Regions from separate parts of the Homo sapiens genome. Here regions 1, 3, 4, 5, 6 and 7 are each linked to region 2. The links are contacts of gene promoters, found by promoter capture Hi-C in blood cells and fetal thymus (Javierre and others, 2016). All regions are on one chromosome and are shown on one strand. Each heading gives the region's core, a stretch centred on a gene start or on the middle of the fragment in contact. The rest is flanking DNA. Distances are from core to core; before and after follow the strand shown. Region 1 overlaps PLEKHA2 (pleckstrin homology domain containing A2). Region 2 holds the start of NSD3 (nuclear receptor binding SET domain protein 3). Region 3 overlaps ADGRA2 (adhesion G protein-coupled receptor A2). Region 4 has its middle 4.3 kb from the start of ZNF703. Region 5 overlaps ADAM9 (ADAM metallopeptidase domain 9). Region 6 overlaps ADAM9 (ADAM metallopeptidase domain 9). Region 7 overlaps HTRA4 (HtrA serine peptidase 4).

What was found. Contacts are between HindIII fragments. The CHiCAGO score rates a contact against its expected background, and 5 or more counts as called.
Region 1: a contact is called between a fragment that was not itself captured here and the fragment with the promoter of NSD3 in region 2, in 2 of 17 cell types (fetal thymus and naive B cells). The highest score is 6.1, in fetal thymus.
Region 3: a fragment that was not itself captured here is called in contact with the fragment with the promoter of NSD3 in region 2 in 1 of 17 cell types (fetal thymus); the score reaches 8.0 in fetal thymus.
Region 4: a fragment that was not itself captured here is called in contact with the fragment with the promoter of NSD3 in region 2 in 1 of 17 cell types (fetal thymus); the score reaches 5.2 in fetal thymus.
Region 5: a contact is called between a fragment that was not itself captured here and the fragment with the promoter of NSD3 in region 2, in 1 of 17 cell types (neutrophils). The highest score is 12.2, in neutrophils.
Region 6: a contact is called between a fragment that was not itself captured here and the fragment with the promoter of NSD3 in region 2, in 1 of 17 cell types (M2 macrophages). The highest score is 5.9, in M2 macrophages.
Region 7: a contact is called between a fragment that was not itself captured here and the fragment with the promoter of NSD3 in region 2, in 2 of 17 cell types (naive CD8 T cells and non-activated CD4 T cells). The highest score is 7.4, in naive CD8 T cells.

What each region holds. Positions count from the first base shown.
Region 1 is chr8:38,962,114-38,964,911 of GRCh38, reverse strand. All of the region lies in intron 10 of PLEKHA2 (pleckstrin homology domain containing A2), which reads right to left. Among named protein-coding and RNA genes, the nearest start is that of HTRA4, 11 kb to the left of the region's middle. The HindIII fragment of the contact is 1,622 bases long and covers 738-2,359 here.
Region 2 is chr8:38,380,673-38,383,522 of GRCh38, reverse strand. It overlaps NSD3 (nuclear receptor binding SET domain protein 3), which reads left to right and starts at 1,252. Exons shown (of 24, transcript NM_023034.2): 1 at 1,252-1,724. It also overlaps a transcript of LETM2 not described here. RefSeq lists silencers at 346-695, 886-1,035, 1,066-1,465 and enhancers at 1,114-1,904, 2,195-2,729. The HindIII fragment of the contact is 5,398 bases long and covers 1-2,850 here.
Region 3 is chr8:37,805,013-37,807,712 of GRCh38, reverse strand. The region is part of intron 1 of ADGRA2 (adhesion G protein-coupled receptor A2); the gene reads right to left. Among named protein-coding and RNA genes, the nearest start is that of ADGRA2, 9.5 kb to the right of the region's middle. The HindIII fragment of the contact is 3,877 bases long and covers 1-2,700 here.
Region 4 is chr8:37,690,174-37,692,873 of GRCh38, reverse strand. No RefSeq gene overlaps it. Among named protein-coding and RNA genes, the nearest start is that of ZNF703, 4.3 kb to the left of the region's middle. RefSeq lists a silencer at 2,449-2,700. The HindIII fragment of the contact is 2,359 bases long and covers 140-2,498 here.
Region 5 is chr8:39,001,052-39,003,892 of GRCh38, reverse strand. All of the region lies in intron 1 of ADAM9 (ADAM metallopeptidase domain 9), which reads right to left. Among named protein-coding and RNA genes, the nearest start is that of ADAM9, 5.5 kb to the right of the region's middle. RefSeq lists an enhancer at 970-1,109. The HindIII fragment of the contact is 5,526 bases long and covers 1-2,841 here.
Region 6 is chr8:39,039,013-39,041,712 of GRCh38, reverse strand. All of the region lies in intron 11 of ADAM9 (ADAM metallopeptidase domain 9), which reads right to left. Among named protein-coding and RNA genes, the nearest start is that of SNORD38D, 22 kb to the right of the region's middle. The HindIII fragment of the contact is 4,086 bases long and covers 1-2,700 here.
Region 7 is chr8:38,981,044-38,983,743 of GRCh38, reverse strand. HTRA4 (HtrA serine peptidase 4) reads right to left here. Exons shown (of 9, transcript NM_153692.4): 6 at 1,977-2,091; 7 at 1,189-1,246; 8 at 696-791. Among named protein-coding and RNA genes, the nearest start is that of HTRA4, 8.2 kb to the right of the region's middle. The HindIII fragment of the contact is 9,484 bases long and covers 1-2,700 here.

The DNA of each region.
Region 1 (2,798 bases), core at 299-2,798, 580 kb before region 2:
GAGCAAGACCTCTTCTCCCTAACCTTTGCAAAAAAAAAAAAAAAAAAAAAAAAAAAAAAGGGAAGTAACAAGAAAAAATAAAATAAAATCACTTTAAAACCTCACAAAATTCTAAAATAACAATTGAGAGCAAATCCAGTCTTTTTGCTATTCATTTCTGTTTTCCAAAATACAAAGATACATTATATCTTGATTTTTTTTTTCAGTTAATAATAGAAGGATTTTTCCATGTTACCAGACGTCTTTGTAAGCATTTTCAGGGGATCCAAGTAGATATACTATGGTTCACCCACCTAGTCCTCTAAAACAGTGGTCATCAACCTTTTCAGCATAGGGATCGGTTTTGTGGAAGACAATTTTTCCATGAACTTGGAAGGGTAAAGGGAGGGGGATGACGGGTGGTTTCGGGATGAAACTGTTCCACCTCAGATCATCAGGCATTACATTCTCATAGGAAGCGCACAACCTAGATCCCTCACATGCACAGTTCACAATAGGGTTCGCAGTCCTATGAGAATTTAATGCCGCTGCCGATCCGACAGGAGGTGGAACTCAGGCGATAATGTTTGCTCTCCCACTGCTCACCTCCTACTGTGTGGTCAGGTTCCTAACAGGCCATGGACCAGTACCAGTCCACAGCTTAGGGGTTGGGGATCGCTGCTCTAAAATATTTTTTGAATATTCCCTATTCTCCTCATATGAATAATGCTGCTACTCACATCTTTGGGGATAAAGCTTTTTTCGTATTTAGGAATATTTAGGAACCCTCAGCTCCCAAGGCAATTACTAAATTAAAGAATTCACACCCTTTTAAATCTCTTCTTACATCTGGCCAGAGAGATTTCTGGCCAATAATATAAATTTCATTTGCCAACATTTTTGTTACATGCACCCTTGCTAGAATTAAATATTATAATTTTTTAAATCTTTGCTAATATGATAGGTAAAATAATTAAATCTCTTTCTTAAAACATTTAGTAATTTAGTGAAGACGGAAATTGTTTACTAGTTATATTTCTTCCCTAATTCTCTAATTCCTTCTTAAGAACATTTTTCGGTCAGATAACCTAGATAGTAACTCAGCCATGAAGATAAATGCTACTCCCTAATAAATGTTATTTTAAAATACTGCTCAAAAAGAAAATCAGATATTGCAATGAATTCCATATGAGAAGAAACAATATTATTTTATTGAGATCACAATTACAATGTTTTATTTTTAAATTTTTTTTGGAGCAGGGTATTCCTGGCCTCAAGCAATCCTCCTGCCTCAGCCTCCCAAAGTGCTGGGATTACAGGCATGAGCCACCAGGCCTGGCCTATAATCTCTCCTAGTAGTTTTAAGAACTGGGATTCATGAGAAACAAAAACTCAATGAAACTCCAAAATTGTATGCAAAAATTATGGTTATGTACATATCTATTTTTACGGAAAGCCTGTGCTTAGCTTTCATCAAAATCGTAAAACCACATCACAAAGTAGCTTCATGAAACAGAGGTTTAAAAAAATATATATAGCTGAAGTCTACCCACCCATGATGAATTACCATGAGACTAAAAACATACTTTAAACTCAGTAAAACAAAAAAGGAAGTGCCAAGGTCATAGCTTCATCTCTTCCTGGTGTGCTTATGTGTGTGCACCTGTTTCTGGTGCTCGGTTCAAAAGAAAAAGCAGGGCTTCTGTCCTTGAGGGCAGTTTTTGAGATGAGTAGGACAGACAGTATTAAAATGAATCGTTGCAGCCTGCAGTTTTATTGTAGTCCAGTGAGCTTCTATTGACTATCTAACATAAGCCCAGCACTATAATAGATACAATGGTTTGAAGCAATGAATTCTAGAGGCCATAAAGGCTTCCATATCTACTTCTGGTTACTGCCATTGCCGCTATCCAAAATTTTTAGGCAACTCCTCCTTCATTCTGTTCTCCACCTCTGCAACCCTCCTTTCCCAAGAACTAGTGCCATCTCTAGACACAGCCCTGCCACATACGATTGTGTAGATTGCACACTACATAGTTCTAGGTGACATCATTCACCCTGTAGTCTAAATTAAACAGTAAGTATCCGAAGAGCTCTAATGCAACACTCTGCAACTCACTTGAGTCCACTTATTGCTACTCTTGTCCTGACATAGCACCCTAGTTCTAACAACTGGGCTTATGCCAAGCTAAGACCAGTTTGCACCACATTTCTCATTTCGAATAACTAATTTCCCTCTTGATAAACTGCCTAATTCCCTTGACATTCTATGAATGGGAAATGGGGAAATGGTGACCTCTACTTGCCTGGTAGCTCAAGAATTGAAATGTGATTTTGAACTTTTGCCCAGAACTGAGAACTGTTTACCTGCTTACAAGCTTGCTGAAATCACTGGCCTTTCTACCTGCTTAGATACCTGGTTATTTCCAGATCTTGGATTTTTGGTCACCATGATCCATTTGCCAAGACACCCAATTACCCCAAGTTGGTCTTCTCCAACAGAGTCAGACTTCCCTGGTTGTCTGTGACCACACCCTCTATATCATGGGTTCTGGACCAGGCTGCTCTTATTTTTTTCTTTTCTTTTGGTTTACTTTTGCTTGTTTTTAGAGACAGGGGTCTCACTGGGTTGCTGAGGCTGGTGTCGCACTCCTGGGCTCCAACAATCCTTCCACTTTGGCCTCCCAAAGTGCTGGGATTAGAGGTGTGAGCCACTGCACCCGGCCTGGACCAGGCTGCTCGCAAACAACCCAAGTTGGCAAATCTTGCTCCAGCACCTGGTGCTTCCCAGTTGGTTCCATAATTCACTGGATTTATTA
Region 2 (2,850 bases), core at 3-2,502:
TAGAGATATCTAATTTCTTGTAATAGTACCAAAGACATCCAGCACTATAACGTCTACAGAGTATGACGTCTAGCGGTAAAATGGCTTTATTCTCAGAACAGAGTATCGGTTTCCTCATTTGCTTGCTGCCTCTGTTTCCTTTTTACGTTCACGTCTCTGTGCTGTAACCTTCCAAATCCTTATCACCAGGCCCCAGGAAATATCACCTGGTCGGCACACTCCTGCAGGGCCAGATCACTGTGCACACACTTAACCTTCCATTGTTTTCCATACGTTTCCTAGGATGCGGGGGGCTAGAGGATGACGGAGAGTTGCCTCCCGGTTCTTCCTCTCGTTCTTATCTTGGGCCCTCTAGGACAAATGTCCCTCACGTCCCTCGATGCGAAGGTCTGGCCGCGAGCAGCCGCGGCCTCCGGCACGTGACGGTCACGGAGCCGTCGCGGTCCCCCGCGGCTGGGGGGCACCCGGGGATGCGGCGGGCGCTGACGTCGTCCTCCCGGTTACCCACAAGCCTCCGGGCCGCAGCAGAGCAGGAAGAGGCGCGCGGGGCCGGCGCCTGCCGGGGAGGTCGAGGCGCTCCCTCGGCGAGCCGGCGCCGCCGGCCGGGTCTCCTACTGCTTGCAACCGGGGGAGGGGGACCATCCGACAGCTCAGCCGGGGCTGAGAGGGAGACGACGCCAAGGCGGTCTTGCATCGCCCCCGGCTTTCCAAATGCAGACCCTACCGGAACCGGAGCCCTTCCCTGACAGCCGTAGGACGGGAGACGGCCGAGGGGTCGCCTGGACTGCCCCGCCCTCGCGCGGTGACCCACCGGGGACCGTGCGAGGGTCGCTTCTAACCCTTAAGAGCTAGAGAGCCGAGTCACCCTGAGGAGCGCCGTATGGCGCTGGTTGCGCGTTGTTCTTTAATCAGCCTCACTGAACGCGCCGATCCCAGTTTTACCTCCCGGGCCCCACCTTTCCACGCCTCCTCCGGCTTCCCGGGGTGTTTTGTGTGTCACTCTCCCACGTACAGTCCCTCCCCGTCCCTCGTTCCTCGGCCCTCTCGCCCGGTCTCCCTAGTCGTCCAGACGCTAGCTGCCGCGGGCGTTCCTGGTTCGCGCTCCCGCCCCCTCCGCCCCGCCGACTCGCCGCTTCCTCCGGAGCCCCAGCGTCCCGAACCAGGGACTGCATTTCCCGGCAGGCGCCGCGGCCCGCGGCCAATGAGGGGCTGAGGATTTGGCGGCGGCGGCGCCCCGAGAGTCGGGGTGGGGGGGCTTTGTGCGCGGCGGCGGCGGGAGAGGCGGCGGCGGCGGCCAGCACGGAGGCGGAGGCCGAGGGGGCTGTGCACAGGTCGCCGCGGAGAGGCGTGCGAATTCCGAGCCGAGCGCCGAGGACCGTGCTACCCAGGCCGGGCTGCCAGCCGCAGGCTCCTCTCTGGCAGCAGCGGCGGCGCGGCGACCCCCGTCCCTCGGCCTCCCCTTCCCATCCCACCTCCCGAGCCTTCCTCTTCCCGCAGCACGCCCGGCCCGGCCCGGCCGTGGCCCTCCTCAGTGCCGGCCGCCATGGCAGAGGCGTCCGGCGCGGGGAAAATCTAGCCCGGGGATTTCATGCGGCCTAGCTCGGTTCCGCCTCCTCCTCGCGCGGCCCCAGCGGCTGCCCGCACCCCAGCCCCACTCCGGGCCTCCGTGTCTCTCCTGTGATCGCACTGACACGGCCGGGGGGTTAGAATGGAACAAACTGAAGGTAAAGTGCGTGTGCGTGTGTGTATGTGTGTGTGTGTGTGTGTGTGTGTGTGCGCGCGCGCGCGTGTGTAGTGCTAGGAAGGGCTGAGGAGGGAACGACGGGGAGGGGGCGACCTAGGGATGGAGCGCCAGACCCCAGGAGGAATGGAAGGGGAAGCGGGTGGCCTGAAAGGGCTCGAGGGGAGTCCTGACGGAGGAGCAGATGGCAAGGTGGGGGGTGTGGAGGGAATTGGGGGGTGGGCCAGGGGAGGTGGGGAGTGGGATGGGAGTCGGAGTGGCGCTGAGCTGGGAATTGGGAAAGTGGGATGGGGGCGGGGATAAGGATGGATCGGGGAGGGGCAGGGAAAGGGGAGAAGAGTTGCATGGAGATTACAGACCTGGGTGGACTGATAAATAGGGAGATTTGGGGATGGAGTGTAGGAACCAGAAGAGTCTGGGAGAAGGGGATAAATTTGCTGGAGAAATGGGGCATTTTATGGGAATGAAGGGAGAAATGAGGAATGGAAGTGAAGGAAAAGGTGGATTAGGAAAGGGGATGAGGCAGGCTGCAATAGGAGAATGGGAAATAGACGCAGGAAACTGGAAGACAGGATTGGGCTAGGGAAGGAAATTAACTGAATGATGACAGGGATGAGAACGATCGACTTAGCGTCAGAGTGGGAGGAAGAGAAGGGGATGGAGGTCGTTAAAGTGTTAGGAAGGGAGGCCTTTTGTTCCTGTATTTGTGTGTATTCTGTGTCTTTCTTTCAAGGCTAGAGAATAGAGAAGCTGGTGGTTATGGGATTGTGATTGTTGTGAAATGGGGAGGTGTGGGTTTTACTGTTTTGAGGGAGAAGGCGATGTGTTTGTGTTATGGAAGGGAGGCAGGGAGAGACATGGCCATAATTTGATGGTTTTGGGGAGGGAGTGAAGATTATTTCGATTTAAAGGGGGCAGGGGCAGCCATGTTTGCTGCCAAGGCACTGCAGTGTAAATAAATTCCTTTTCCTCTCCGACATCAGTATGAATCTGGAAGGGGCCAATTCAGACTGTTAGCCCCCTTTCTTTCTATTCATGAACTCTTTTCCCCTTACGTCTTGGGTCATTTTAAATTATTCATAACCGCCAAAGGAGGTAGTGATGTTTTC
Region 3 (2,700 bases), core at 190-2,689, 580 kb after region 2:
CTGGCAGCTTGGCCGTGTCTTAGGGAAACCATCACAGAACTGGTAGGGGGCAGTCTGCTTGCTGATGCCAAAAAGCCCTGGGGCTCGAACACCCACCGAAATCAGAGCTCTCAGCCTCCCCTGCAGCCGCTGTGCCTTTGAGCATTTCCAGGGCTCAAAGAGATGCCTAAAACCTAAAAAAGAAGCATTGCCTCTAAAATATAGATGCTGCAAAGACGGAAATTAACCAATGCTTAATGACATAATTACCCAATGTCATACTATGTCATTAGCAATAATTATTATGTTCGATGACGGATGTGGGTACATTTTAGTATGGTTGATACGACAGTAAGACCTCCAAAAGTGAGGATGCTCGCCGTGCACAGGCCCTGTTTCAACACACAACCTCAAGCGAAAGGCTGGCCTGTGGCTTCCCGTCCCTCCGTGGCTGCCTTCACATGCATTTAGCCTGACTGCAAGGGACATAAATGTTGGTGAGGACATGTAAGGTGTTCTGCCCGCTCCTGCACTTCCCTGCCACCCTTCCCTGGGCTGGACGCTTGTCAGGTCAGCCCTGAACACCGACTGGCAATAGAAGGAGGCCTAGGGAGGGGCTTTAGGGGGTTGGGTCCTGAGACTGCCCCTGAACCCAGCCTGGAAGCTGGGCTGTCCAGGCAGGGCTGGAGGCCCAGGCCATGAGAGAAAACAGACCTGCAGTGAGTCCTGCTCCACCCTGCCTTCTCTCATAGGTCTAGTCTCCTTTCTCTAACCTACCCTCTCTACAAGGGCACCCCAACTTGGTGGTGAGCAGGGGGAACCAAGAAACTGGGGCTTGGATGGGAAGGGAATCTGTGGCTTTGGGACAGAATCTGGAGACAGAAGCCTAAGAAAATGGGCTACATGCCGGGCGCAGTGGCTCACATCTGTAATCTCAGCACTTTGGGAGGACAAGGTGGATGGATCACTTGAGGTCAGGAGTTCGAGACCAGCCTGGCCAACATGGTGAAACCCCGTCTCTATTAAAAATACAAAAATTAGCTGGACAAGGTAGCATGCATCTGTAGTCCCAGCTACTAGGGAGGCTGAGGCAGGAGAATTGCTTGAACCCAGGAGGCAGAGGTTGCAGAGAGCCAAGATCGTGCCACTGCACTCCAGCCTGGGTGACAGAGTGAGACTCGACTCTGTCTCAAAAAAAAAAAAAAAAGAAAAAGAAAAAAGAAAAAGAAAAAGAAAAAGAAAATGCCACACCCATAGGGGTCACATTGTCTGAAGCTACCCGAGGTGGTGCCAGAGAGGAAGAGGAAACAGTTGGGGGTAATCAGTATACCTTGATGGGGATTTGGGGGTCACAGCATCCTGGCTTGAGCACAAGGAACATAGTCTGCTGTAATCATCCACAGTTAGGTATTCATTCATTCATCCATTCATTCATTCATTGCTCAGAGCTACCTAACAGCCACTGTGCACTCAGCCTTGTGTAACAGGCTAGTCCTACAAACATAAATCATACATCACATATCTGCAAACTTCCATTCATAGGAGGTGGAGGGAGATGTGTCCAACAGGATGGAATGTTCATCTATGTGTGTGTCTGTGTCCCCCTGATTTGTGGAGGCTGGGAAATTACCCCCAACTGACCTTAAACATTTCCTCCATGCACAACCTAAAAGCCCCCCGGGGGGAGCCAAACTTTTGAGTGAAGAAAGCAGACCTCTTTGAGGGGTAGGTGGTGATGGAGGTCTCACTATGTTGCCCAGGTTGGTCTTGAACTCCTCTTGCCTCAGCCTCTGGACTAGCTAGTATGCCACCATGCCCAGCTAACAAAAAAAAGTGTTTGTTTGTTTGTTTGTTTGTTTTTGTTTGAGAAGGAGTCTCACTCTGTCGCCCAGGCTAGAGTGCAGTGGTACGATCTCGGCTCACTGCAACCTCCACCTCCCGGGTCCAAGTAACTCGCCTGCCTCAGCCTCATGAGTAGCTGGGATTACAGGCGCGCACCACTACACCCGGCTAATTTTTTGTATTTTTAGTAGAGACGGGGTTTCACTGTGTTAGCCAGGATGGTCTCGAACTCCTGACCTCGTGATCCACCCACCTCGGCCTCCCAAAGTGTTGGAATTACAGGCGTGAGCCACCGTGACTGGCCAAAAAAGAAAAAAAAAATTTAGACACGGATCTCTATGTGCCCAGAATGGTTTTGAACCCCTGGCCTCAAGTGATCCCCCTGCCTCAGCCTGCAGAGTAGCTGAGATTACAGGGAAGGGCCAACACACGCGGCGCAGACCTCTTTTAAAATACAAACAGACCCAAAAGGATGGAAGTTATCAATGTTTTCTACCTACGCAGATACTCATCTTTGACCTTTCCTCCATAGAAGCTATATTTGCTACCCTGATCCTGTCCGGCGTTGTAAGCTGGTACCTGTCTCCAGGAGACTGTAAGGACAGAAGGGCAGAGCCTGGGTCTTTTGCCTCCTCCCATGGGGTGAAGATACACTGTAGGCATTGGCTGAGTGACAGGGGCAGAGCTCCAGGATGGAGGGGATGTTTGGTCAACAGAGAGTTCACTGCTGAGCCCTGGGTTTCCCCAAGCCAAACGGCAGTTTCTTTCTACCTCCAATTCCCTCTCTCTCCCCAACACCTAGGAGATAGCATCCATCCTTCTCTGAGTGAGCCGGGCTCCACGGTACAGCCTTTCTGGGATGCCACACCCATAGGGGTC
Region 4 (2,700 bases), core at 70-2,569, 690 kb after region 2:
GTGGTGAAGAATGACAGTTCGGTATGTCAGGCGCTTAATAAACATCAGGTGTTGCTATCATTCTCAGTTCAAGCTGAAGAGAGTCAGGCCCAGAACCAGGCTGCTGTGGGGACCCCGGGCAAGTGAACCTCCCTAAGCTTTGGTTTCCTCCAGGGTAAAATGGAAGCGTGGCCACTTCAGAGTTGGGAGACCAGAAGCAGACAATGCATGTCACCTGTTTCATGCTTGGCACAAAGAAAGTTGAAGGTAAATGATGGCTGTAACCGATTGCATCATTTGTGTCTGAGGAGCAATTGCTCAGGGGAGCAGCCACATCAGCACCAGATTTAGCCCTGGGAACCCAAGCAGAAGAGCCCAGGTTGTCTCTGAATTCTACAGAAATGAAAGTAACCCTTCCCCAGCCTCCAGTTCAATGTGTCTTTTTTTTTTTTTGAGACGGAGTCTTGCTGTCTTGCCCAGGCTGGAGTGCAGTGGCATGATCTCGGCTCACTGCAACCTCTGCCTCTCGGGTTCAAGCGATTCTCCTGCCTCAGCCTCCCGAGTAGCTGGGATTACAGGCGTGTGCTATGATGCCTAGCTAATTTTTGTATTTTTAGTAGAGATGGGGTTTCTCCATGTTGGCCAGGCTGGTCTTGAACTCCTGACCTCAAGTGATCTGCCGGCCTCAGCCTCCGAAAGTGCTGGAATTACAGGCATGAGCCACCGTGCCCAGCCCGCAATGTGTCTTAAAAAAAAAAAAAAATAGCCCATCCCTCCCTAGAAGCCATCAAGAAAATCCTTTAAGAAACTGTGAATATGTATAGATTATTTTTTCACTACTTCAATTTACATAAAATTCACCACCCAGGAAAAAATGCTCGAGTCAGGTTAAGACCTAGAGGGGGTAGATTTGTTGTGTGGGGTTAATGTGTAGTTTTCAGTCCTTGCCGAGGCAGAATTGCCTGAATGATCGCCTCTCTCTCCTCTCTCTGCATAACACTCAAACCCTAATGGCAACAACATGAAATAATATCTCACTGGGTAACTATTTACATTTTTTTTTTTTTTACAAGCTGTAAGAACTCTGAAAAGTCTGCCTCATAGAGAACTTGGTTTTCCTCCCTGGCGCTTAATATCTTTCAGCGGCTGGCAATTACTGCTTTGGCCGGGAGCCCTGATTTAGCACACTGCACTCAGGGCACTTGAAGGCGCTTCCTCTGTCTGCCCCATCCCCCGGCTTCAGACACAGCCTGGGGCACGAGAGGGGCACCAGGGAACAGTGGGAGCAAGCAGGCTAAGACCAGGACAGCCAGCCCTGCAGGAAGCCCGCCCCACCGATGACTCAAGAGGCTCCCTCTTCTACATTCTCACAGTTGGTATTATGTTCTATTATTACACCTATCACATGGCATCTGCCACTATTTGCTTCCTTGTCTGATCTCCCACTGGACTGTGAATGCTTCTTGTTTTCCTCATCCTCTTTGTGTACTTATTGCCTAACAGAGCGGTTCACCATCACCACAGTAGCCAACGTTGAGTGCCAAACGCTGTTCTAAGCACTTTGCGTGCATTCTCTCATTTAATCCTTGCAGAAACCTTAGGAGATGGGTCCTATGGTTACTTCCATTTCACAGGCACAGAAAGGTTAAGTAACTTGCCCAAGGCCCAAGCTGGTAGGAGGTGAGCCTGGAGTGTCAAATCCAGGTCCAGGCAGTCTCAGTGCAGTTAGTACCCAGTGAATGTTTCTGATGAACGAAGAATTTTACAAAAATAGGGCTATTTATTTATATCACACCTCACTGTATTCCCAAAAGGTTTAACACGGATGATTGTATTTTTCAAAATGTTGATTGTATAAACATGTTAAAGTACCTTTTCCCAAATGCATTGTTTTTTTGAGACAGAGTCTTGCTCTGTTGCCCAGGCTGGAGTGCAGTGACGTGATCTTGGCTCACTGCAACCTCCGCCTCCTGGGTGCAAGCGATTCTCCTCCAGTCTCAGCCTCCCAAGTAGCTGGGATTACAGGCGCCCACCATCATGCCCAGCTAATTTTTGTATTTTTAGTAGAGACAGGGTTTCACCACGTTGGCCAGGCTGGTCTTGAACTCTTGACCTCAGGTGATCCTCCTGCCTCAGCCTTCCAAAGTGCTGGGATTACAGGCGTGAGCCACTGCGCCTGGCCCCAAATGCATCTTTGGGTCCAGCATCTCACAGCAATTTTCTTTCCTTTGGGCAGGTGTTATTATCCTTGTTTGACAGATGAGGAAATGGGCTCGGAGAGCTTAAGGGAGCGTCCAAAGTCACACACAGCAAAAGGCTGGCAGAATGGGCACAGAATGAGTCCTTCTCGGTCCCTTCCCTGGTTCTTGGTCTATTGCCTTCTGCCACTGTTGTTGTGTGGACAGAGAGCTAACTCCTTTTGATAAAAGAAGGAAGAATGAACTCCTTTTCCTCACCTAAGAATTTCCTCTAGAGATGTGGTGGGGAGGAAGGGACAAAAGGAAGTGCGGACCAAAGCTTGTCTCCAAGCCTGTGCGTTTGATCCCGGTCCTTGAGCAGCTGCTTTGAAGAGGGTGGTTTGGTTTATCTCCTATCAGCTCCTGGGGAGCTAGGCCGGGGAGATGGAGTAGGTGTGATTTTGAAGTTCTCCTTCCTTAGCCTGACCTGCCCTGATACATCAACGCTAGCCCTGGGCATTCACCCCTGACTGCTTTGTTCCTT
Region 5 (2,841 bases), core at 33-2,532, 620 kb before region 2:
ATACGTAACTTTTTTTCCTTCTTTTCCATTTTAAACACAATTCTCATTTGAAAAGCAAAATGCCGTAACTAATCACTTATTTTTAAAAGACTTTCAAAATTATAGCACCCTGAAATAATTTCTGTGTGTAAGGGCTGTTATTCTGATATTGACATCTTGCTTCTAAAATCCAAGCAACCACTTTCTGAATTAAAGCCATGCCATAAAAAGTTCCAAAACATCATAACAAATGCACATACTGGGGGAATGTCATCAAAATAATACATACTAATTGTATGAAAATCCTCCTTCCCATGTTTTTTTCCCAAAATTCCTTTCTTATCTCTAGGTCAGGTTTTTTTCTTTTTTCCTGTTCATATCCTGCATAGATTTTCCCCAAATTCCCTTTAGTTGTTTTTTTTTTTTTTAAATTCCAAATAGTAGCAGTTTCTCATGGGAACCAAAATAACATTTTTCCACATTAATATAAAAAAAGAGCTTTAATATTATTTGTATAAACCTTCAACCTGTAAGGGCGCTGTCCTGTGTACTGTGGAATGTTTTGCAGCATCCCTGGCCTCCACCCACTAGATGCCAACAGCATCCCCCAGTTGTGACAGCTAAAAGTTTCAGGCCAAGACTAGAAACCAAGTCTTCTGTCTTCTATGAATTTTTTACCCAGACTGCCAATGAAGTAAAATAAAAGCTAAATATAGGAAGATTACATATAACTTTCTTTCCCTCTTTTGCATTTTAAACACAATTCTCATTTTGAAAACCAAAATGCCACAATTAATCATTTATTTTATCAAGAGTCTGAGACCAGCCTGGCCAACATGGTGAAACCCTGCCTCTACAAAACATGCAAAATTAGCCAGGCCTGGTGGCGCTCTCCTGTTGTCCCAGCTACTCGGGAGGCTGAGGCACGAGACCACTTGAGCCAGGATGGGGAGGTTGCAGTGAGCTGAGAACCACTTTAGCCCAGGAGGGGGAGGTTGCAGTGAGCTGAGATTGCACCACTGCACTCCAGCCTGGGCAACCTCCGAGGGAGACTCCGTCTAAAAAAAAAGAAAAAGAGAAAACGGCCTGAAGAGAAAACGTGAACCACTGAAACATGAAACTTAACATGTCTAATCTTAAAGAAAGGAAAAGGTGTTAGTTGCACTTCTTTCTTTCTCTAACTCCGTAGATCTTTCTATACACTGTAGTGTGTTTTAGAGGAAGTCTGAGCACACTTTTCATAATAGTAATTGTAGTACAGGGAAGTGAGTTAAAAGAGTTCTACCTAATTGTGGCCGGGCACAGTGGCTCAAGCCTATAGTCCCAGCAATTTGGGAGGCCGAGGCAGGCGGATCACGAGGTCAGGAATTCCAGACCAGCCTGGCCAATATGGTGAAACCCCGTCTTTACTAAAAAAAAATACAAAAATTAGCCGGGCGTGGTGGTGCGTGCCTGTAGTCCCAGCTACTCGGGAGGCTGAGGCAGAAGAATCACTTGAACCTGGGAGGTGGAGGTTGCAGTGACCCCAGATTGTGCCACTGCACCCCAGTCTGGGCAACAGAGTGAGACTCTGTCTCAAAAAAAAAAAAAAAAAAAAAAAAGAATTCTACCTAATTGCAAAGCAAACAAATGTGAACTCCAAACCATGGGCTTCTCCTGCCTACTACATAAACAAACAGCCACTTTTAAGTACTTCCACTGTAGAAAATAAAAATAAACCTGGCCTCCACATTCAGGATAAATAAGATAATTCTGTTTCCAAAGTATTTCTTGTAGAGAAATTGTTTCAATTAGATCTACAAAGCACTATTATTTCGAGCCATATAATAGGTTGGTGCAAAAGTAATTGCAGTTTTTGCCTTTTTTTTTTTTTTTTTTTTAATCATTCTAGTATTCGCCAGGTCAATTCCAGATAAATACATACCGTATATTAATAACTACCTTTGGGCTGGGCGTGGTGGCTCATGCCTGTAATCCCAGCACTTTGGGAGGCCGAGGCGGGTGGATCACAAGGTCAGGAGTTCAAGACCAGCCTTGCCAACATGGTGAAACCCTGTCTCTACTAAAAATACAAAATTTAGCCAGGTGTGGTGGCGCACGCGCCTGTAATCCCAGCTACTCAGGAGGCTGAGGCAGAAGGATCGCTTGAACCTGGGAGGCAGAGGTTGCAGTGAGCTGAGATCGAGCCATTGCACTCCAGTCTGGGCAACAGTGTGAGACTCCATCTCAAAAAAAAAAAAAACTACCTTCAAACATACTTAATTATAATTTCTACTGCTAGGTCTACACTCTTACTTTTTTTAGTGTTACACTTTTCTTAAATATTTACCCATCTTTACATTTAAAAAGAAATGGCTTCTGTTGTTTGTTTAAGTGTCCCTTTGGGAAAAACACCACCCATTTCTAAGATTTAATGCCCTAGACAATTTAAGTTCCTCCAGCAAAGAATTTAAGTTCTTTGAGATCAAGGACGGTATCTTATTCATCATGTACTTCCTGCACTGGTACAGTACGTATTCAATAAAATATGTGTTGAATAAATAACCTCTTCTGATGGTTACAGCTAAACAAACATAGTTCTGATAGTTGTAATTATCACATATGACTTAAAGTGAACCTTACTTTTTATGATTAACATCTTTTGTATCAACTTTTCTACAAATCTACATAGCCTACACATTTGTCATTTTGATAGCAAAATCGTATTTCATTGTATTGCTATCCACAGACTGCTTAATCACTTCTCTTAAGTGGCTGGGATGGGAGGTTAGGCCCAAGATATCTTCACAACAGGATTCTCAGCCTTTCAATAAGACTGATTAGAATCAGGCTCTCCTGGGGTCTACTCATATGAAGATTCTA
Region 6 (2,700 bases), core at 70-2,569, 660 kb before region 2:
TTAAAACATATCACTTACATTGAAATACAAAATGATAATTCTCAGCATCAGAAGAGACTTTAAAAATTATTTAGTCCTATGAGAATAAAGTTTTATTTATCTAACACAGTAAAGGTTCTTCAAATATTGGAAGGTAGCTGTACGTTGTCTCCAATCTTTTTTCTACTCTGAAGGATAACATTTTTATGTTCACCCATGCCCATTACCACTTATTAGGAGCTCTGCAAAAATAATGCAAATGGGCAACTCCAGTTCAGATGCACACTAGCCATCAAAAGGCAGACTGCACAGTGTAGAATTTCAGCTACTCCTATATGACAAGTTTTCAACTTGAGCTTTACATATAATAAATTTTATGATAATTCCTGGGAACCGTGGTTAGTACTTTGAAAGTTAGTTGGCCTTTAAGAAATGTCCAACTTGAGCTATGTGAGATTTATATAAATGCAATTTTGATATGTTCTACCTGGGATTTTTTTTTTAGCTACTACTTTACTCAATAACTATAAAATACTTTCAGGTAGTCCCACTGGCTATTTTTACCTTTGAAAACTAGTGGAAATTACACCTATACATCACCTATATCTTTGAGGAATCCATGTCACATTAAAATTCTATTTTATTTTTGCTTTTGTAGACTGAGTTTTTGGTGTGATATCCAAAAATCATTGTTAAGGCCAATGTCAAGGAGCTTTTCCTCAACGTTTTCTTCTTAGAAAGTTTTACAGTTTCAAGTCTGACATTTAGGTATTTTATCCATTTTGAGTTGATTTTTGTGTATGGTGTATGATAAGGGTCCAATTTCATTCTTTTGCATGTAGAAATCCAGTTACCCCAGAACCATTTATTGAAGAGAACTATCCTTTCCCCATTGTATCCTCCTGGTGCCCTTGTCAAAAATTAATTGACTACACATGTTTGGATTTGTTTCTGGGCTCTCTATTCCGTTCCATCGGTCTACGTGTCTGTTTTTATACCACTACCATGCTGTTTTGATTACTATAGCTATCAAACTAAAAAGCTCTGCACAGCAAAGATAACAACCAACAAAATGAAAAGTCTGCAGATTGGGAGAAAATATCTGCAAACCACATATCTTATAAGGTGTATCTTATAACCATGTATCTTATATCCAAAATATATTTTTTAAAACTCACACAACTCCATAGTAGAAAAACAAATAACTCGATTTTTAAAATGAACAAAAGACTTAAATAGACATTTCTCCAAAGATGACATAAAAATGGCCAACAGGTGCATGAAAAGATGCTCAATATCATTAATCATCAAGGAAGTGCAAATCAAAACCACAATGAAATACCACCTCACCCTTGTTAGGATGACTACCATCAAAAAGAGATAACGGCCAGGTATGGTGGCTCACCGCTGTAATCCCAGCACTTTGGGAGGCTGAGGCGGGCGGATCGCTTGAGGTCAGGAGTTCCAGACCAGCCTGGCCAACATGGTAAAACCCCGTCTCTACTAAAATACAAAAATTAGCCAGGTGTGGTGGTGCACGTCTGTAATCTCAGCTACTTGGGAGGCTGAGGTAGGAGAATCGCTTGAACCTGGGAGGCAGAGGTTGTAGTGAGCCGAGATTGCACCACTGCACTCCAGCTTGGGCAACAGAGAGAGACTCTGTCTCAAATAAATAAATAAATAAATAAAAGAGATGACAAGTGCTAGTGAGAGTATAGAAAAAAAGGAATCTTGAGCACTGTTGGTGGGAATGTAGATTGGTGCAGCCACTGTGGAAAACAATAGGAGTTCCCTAAAGAAATTAAAAACAGAACTATCATATGACCCAGCAATCTCACTTTTGGGTATACACCCAAAGAAAATGAAAACACCACCTCATAAAGACGTCTGTATTATCCCATTTTCAGTGCAGCATTAGCCAAGATATGGAAACAAACAAAGTGTCAACAGTTGAATGGACAAAACTGTGGCACATATAAGACTGGTAATTATTCATCCTTATAAAAGGAGATCCTGACATTTACCACAACATGGAGGAACCTGGAGGATGTTATGCTGCGTGAAGCAAGCCAGACAGAAAAAGAAAAATGTTGCATGATCTCACTTATTTTGGAATCTAAAAAAAGAAGTGGAAAATCCAGAGACAGAAAATAAAACACTGATTATGGTGGAGGTGGAGGAAATGGGACATGTAGGTCTGATACAAAGTAGCAGATATGTAAGACAAACAAGTCTAGAGATCTCAGGTACAGCATGAGGACTATAGATAATAATATTGTATTACATTCAAGATTTTTGCTAAAAGAGATTATAGGTGCTCTTTGCCACACACACAAAAAATGGGCAACAATGTGGAATGATGGATGTGTTAATCTGCTTGACTAACCATTTCACCACCTATATTTACATCAAAACATGTTGTACATCTTAAATACAATAAAATTTATATCTTACATATATTTGTATTTTTTCAAGGGAATTTGGTACCCTGAATCTCTTTTCATCAGTTTGAGCAATGGTACCAGAAGTAGCAGCAGGAGTGAAAGCTATGTTGCATTCTAGTTAATGAAGAAGCAGCCCTATCTATAGCTTGGTCTTTTGTATATCCAAGGAACTCTAAGAAACATATTTTTTGCCCTGAGTAGTCATGTTAAACTCTTCTTTGCTAACTGGTCTCTAGAAAAGTTGATAGTACTGACTCCTGCCTCTTGGATTGGAATG
Region 7 (2,700 bases), core at 142-2,641, 600 kb before region 2:
ATTTTAAATTTTCTTGTAGCCACATTTTTAAAAATTTTTAAATAGATGAATTTAATTTAATAATATATCTTATTTAATACAATATATCCAAATATTATCATTTAACGTGATATTTTTAAAATAGTTATTTTACACTCTGTTTCCTATGTCTTTGAAATCCACTTGAAATAACACACCCCCCCAATATACTACTATATAATGATAATATTTTTTTTTTTGAGGTGGAGTCTTGCTCTGTCGCCCAGACTGGAGTACAGTGGCGTGATCTCAGCTCACTGCAACCTCTGCCTCCCATGTTCAAGCGATTCTCCTGCCTCAGCCTCCCAAGTAACTGCAATTACAGGCGCACCCACTAATTTTTGTATTTTTAGTAGAGACGGGGTTTCAGTATGTTGGCCATGCTGGTCTCAAACTCCTGACCTCAGGTGATCCACCCACCCTGGCCTTCCAAAGTGCTGGGATTACAGGCATGAGCCACTGCACCTGGCCTGGGTTTTTTAATTTAAATTAAACTTACTTTAATTCAAAATTCAGTTCCTCAGTCACACTGGCCACATTTCATGTGCTCAGTACATACTACATGTAAGTAGTGGCCACTGTATTGGACAGATCAAGTCTGGATCCCCCATGCATTTTACCATGGCACACATTTAGAAAAAGCAAAGGTAGATGACAAAGGCCTTCACTTCTCTTACCTTTGAGCAGCTGTTCCTTCAACCACTTTACATACATAAACCCCAGAACTCACATCAGGGAAATCTGGATAATGCATTTTCAATTCTTCACTAAGGCTAAGAGAAGTGAGAAGATTAGGAAACAATGAATTAGTCTCCTGAGCCCTGGTAAAAGCCTGAAATTCTTAGTAGGTACTCTGTTCTGCTCAAGGTTCACAAGGGCCGAGGAAGATTCCATCAAGCTAATCACAGTCATTCTCCTCTCAGTTCGGGCTGAGCCTCTATCCCAAAGCCTAGAACCACTGGACATTATAAAATACAGCCACAATGAAATAAACTATGTATAGTTAGTGCTGATGCAGGCAGAGGCAGATACATACCCTGAGACAGATAGGGCCTATGGTCACAAGAGTACCTGGCTGTGGTCCAAGTGGCTCAGCTTTTCTGTTAAGACTGTGCAGCTATGGTTTTTGCCTCTGAAAAACAACCCAGACATATTCAAACACATGCTTACGGCACAGTGAGGGACAGCATTTGCAGACCCAGATATTTCTTATTTGAAAACGCCTTTCCTGGAAAGGAAAGTTATGATGTGTTACAACAAAACCTCTTTCCTGTTAGCGCAGCTTAAAAGACACCCATGTCCCAGGATCTCTTTGCCATCACAGCTGTCCTTTCAGGTTACCTGGATGAAACACAGGCTTCAGAGAACCTTTGTCATTAGCACTTACACTCCTCCCACCCACCTCCCACCTCCAGCCCCTGGGTTTCATTTCCACATTAGCTCAATCCAAATACTTCTGGGTACAACTCATGCTTGGTTTGTGCCTAGTCCCCCAATATTGCTGCTCAAATCACCATTATAGGAGCTGAGTACAAATGAGTGACCCAGTAGTCTACAGGATTCAAATGGCTGTCTCCGGGCCAGGCATGGTGGTTCATGCCTGTAATCCCAGCACTTTGGGAGGCCGAGGCAAGCGGATCACTGGAGGTCAGGAGTTCAAGACCAGCCTGGCCAACATAGTGAAACCCCGTCTCTACTGAAAATACGAAAATGAGCTGGGCGTGGCAGTGGGTGCCTGTAGTCCCAGCTACTCGGAAGGCTGAGGCAGGAGAATCGCTTGAACCCAGGAGGCAGAGGTTGCAGTAAACCAAGATCACGCCACTGCACTCCAACCTGGATGACGAGCAAAATTCTGTCTCAAAAACAAAAACAAAAAAATTGCTGTCACCACAAAAGATTGAGTGTTCCTGAAAAGCACAAGACGAAACCAAAAAAAAAAAAATCCCAACTTGCTTTACCTTTCATCTGGTGCTCATGGTATTCTGCCAAGAACTGCCTAACTCGATCTGAAGGAATTGCAAAGGAGATTCCATCAGTCACCCTCAATGAATTGACGCCAATCACATCACCATCCTGGCAAGGGAGGGGACATCATTCAGTCATGAAGTTTTGCAAACTGATGAGTGCAAGACCAGAACAAGCAGAAGAAGGAGTGAAGCTAGTTACTTAGGGTCAGAAAACAGGGCCGAGAGGAACTTTGTACTTCAAAAGAGAGCAACGGATGTTCCTTTATAGGGCAAATAGTGTGATGGGACAGCAAAGGGTAACTGCACATGCGCAGAAGTTACCTTCTTTTCATGGCCAAAGGATCAAGGATGCTGAGGACTTTTTAAAATCTTGAGCTCATGGCTGGGCAGAGTGGCTCACGCCTGTAATCCCAGCACTTTGGGAGGCCGAGGCGGGCGGATCACGAGGTCAGGAGATCGAGACCATCCTGGCTAACATGGTGAAACCCCATCTCTACTAAAAATATAAAAAATTAGCCGGGCCTGGTGGCGGGTGCCTGTAGTCCCAGCTACTCGGGAGGCTGAGGCAGGAGAATGGCGTGAACCCGGGAGGCGGAGCTTGCAGTGAGCCGAGATCGCGCCACTGCACTCCGGCCTGGGCGACCTAGCGAGACTCCGTCTCAAAAAAAAAAAAAAAAAAAAAAAAAAAAAAAAAACTTAAGCTCATTTTTTTCCT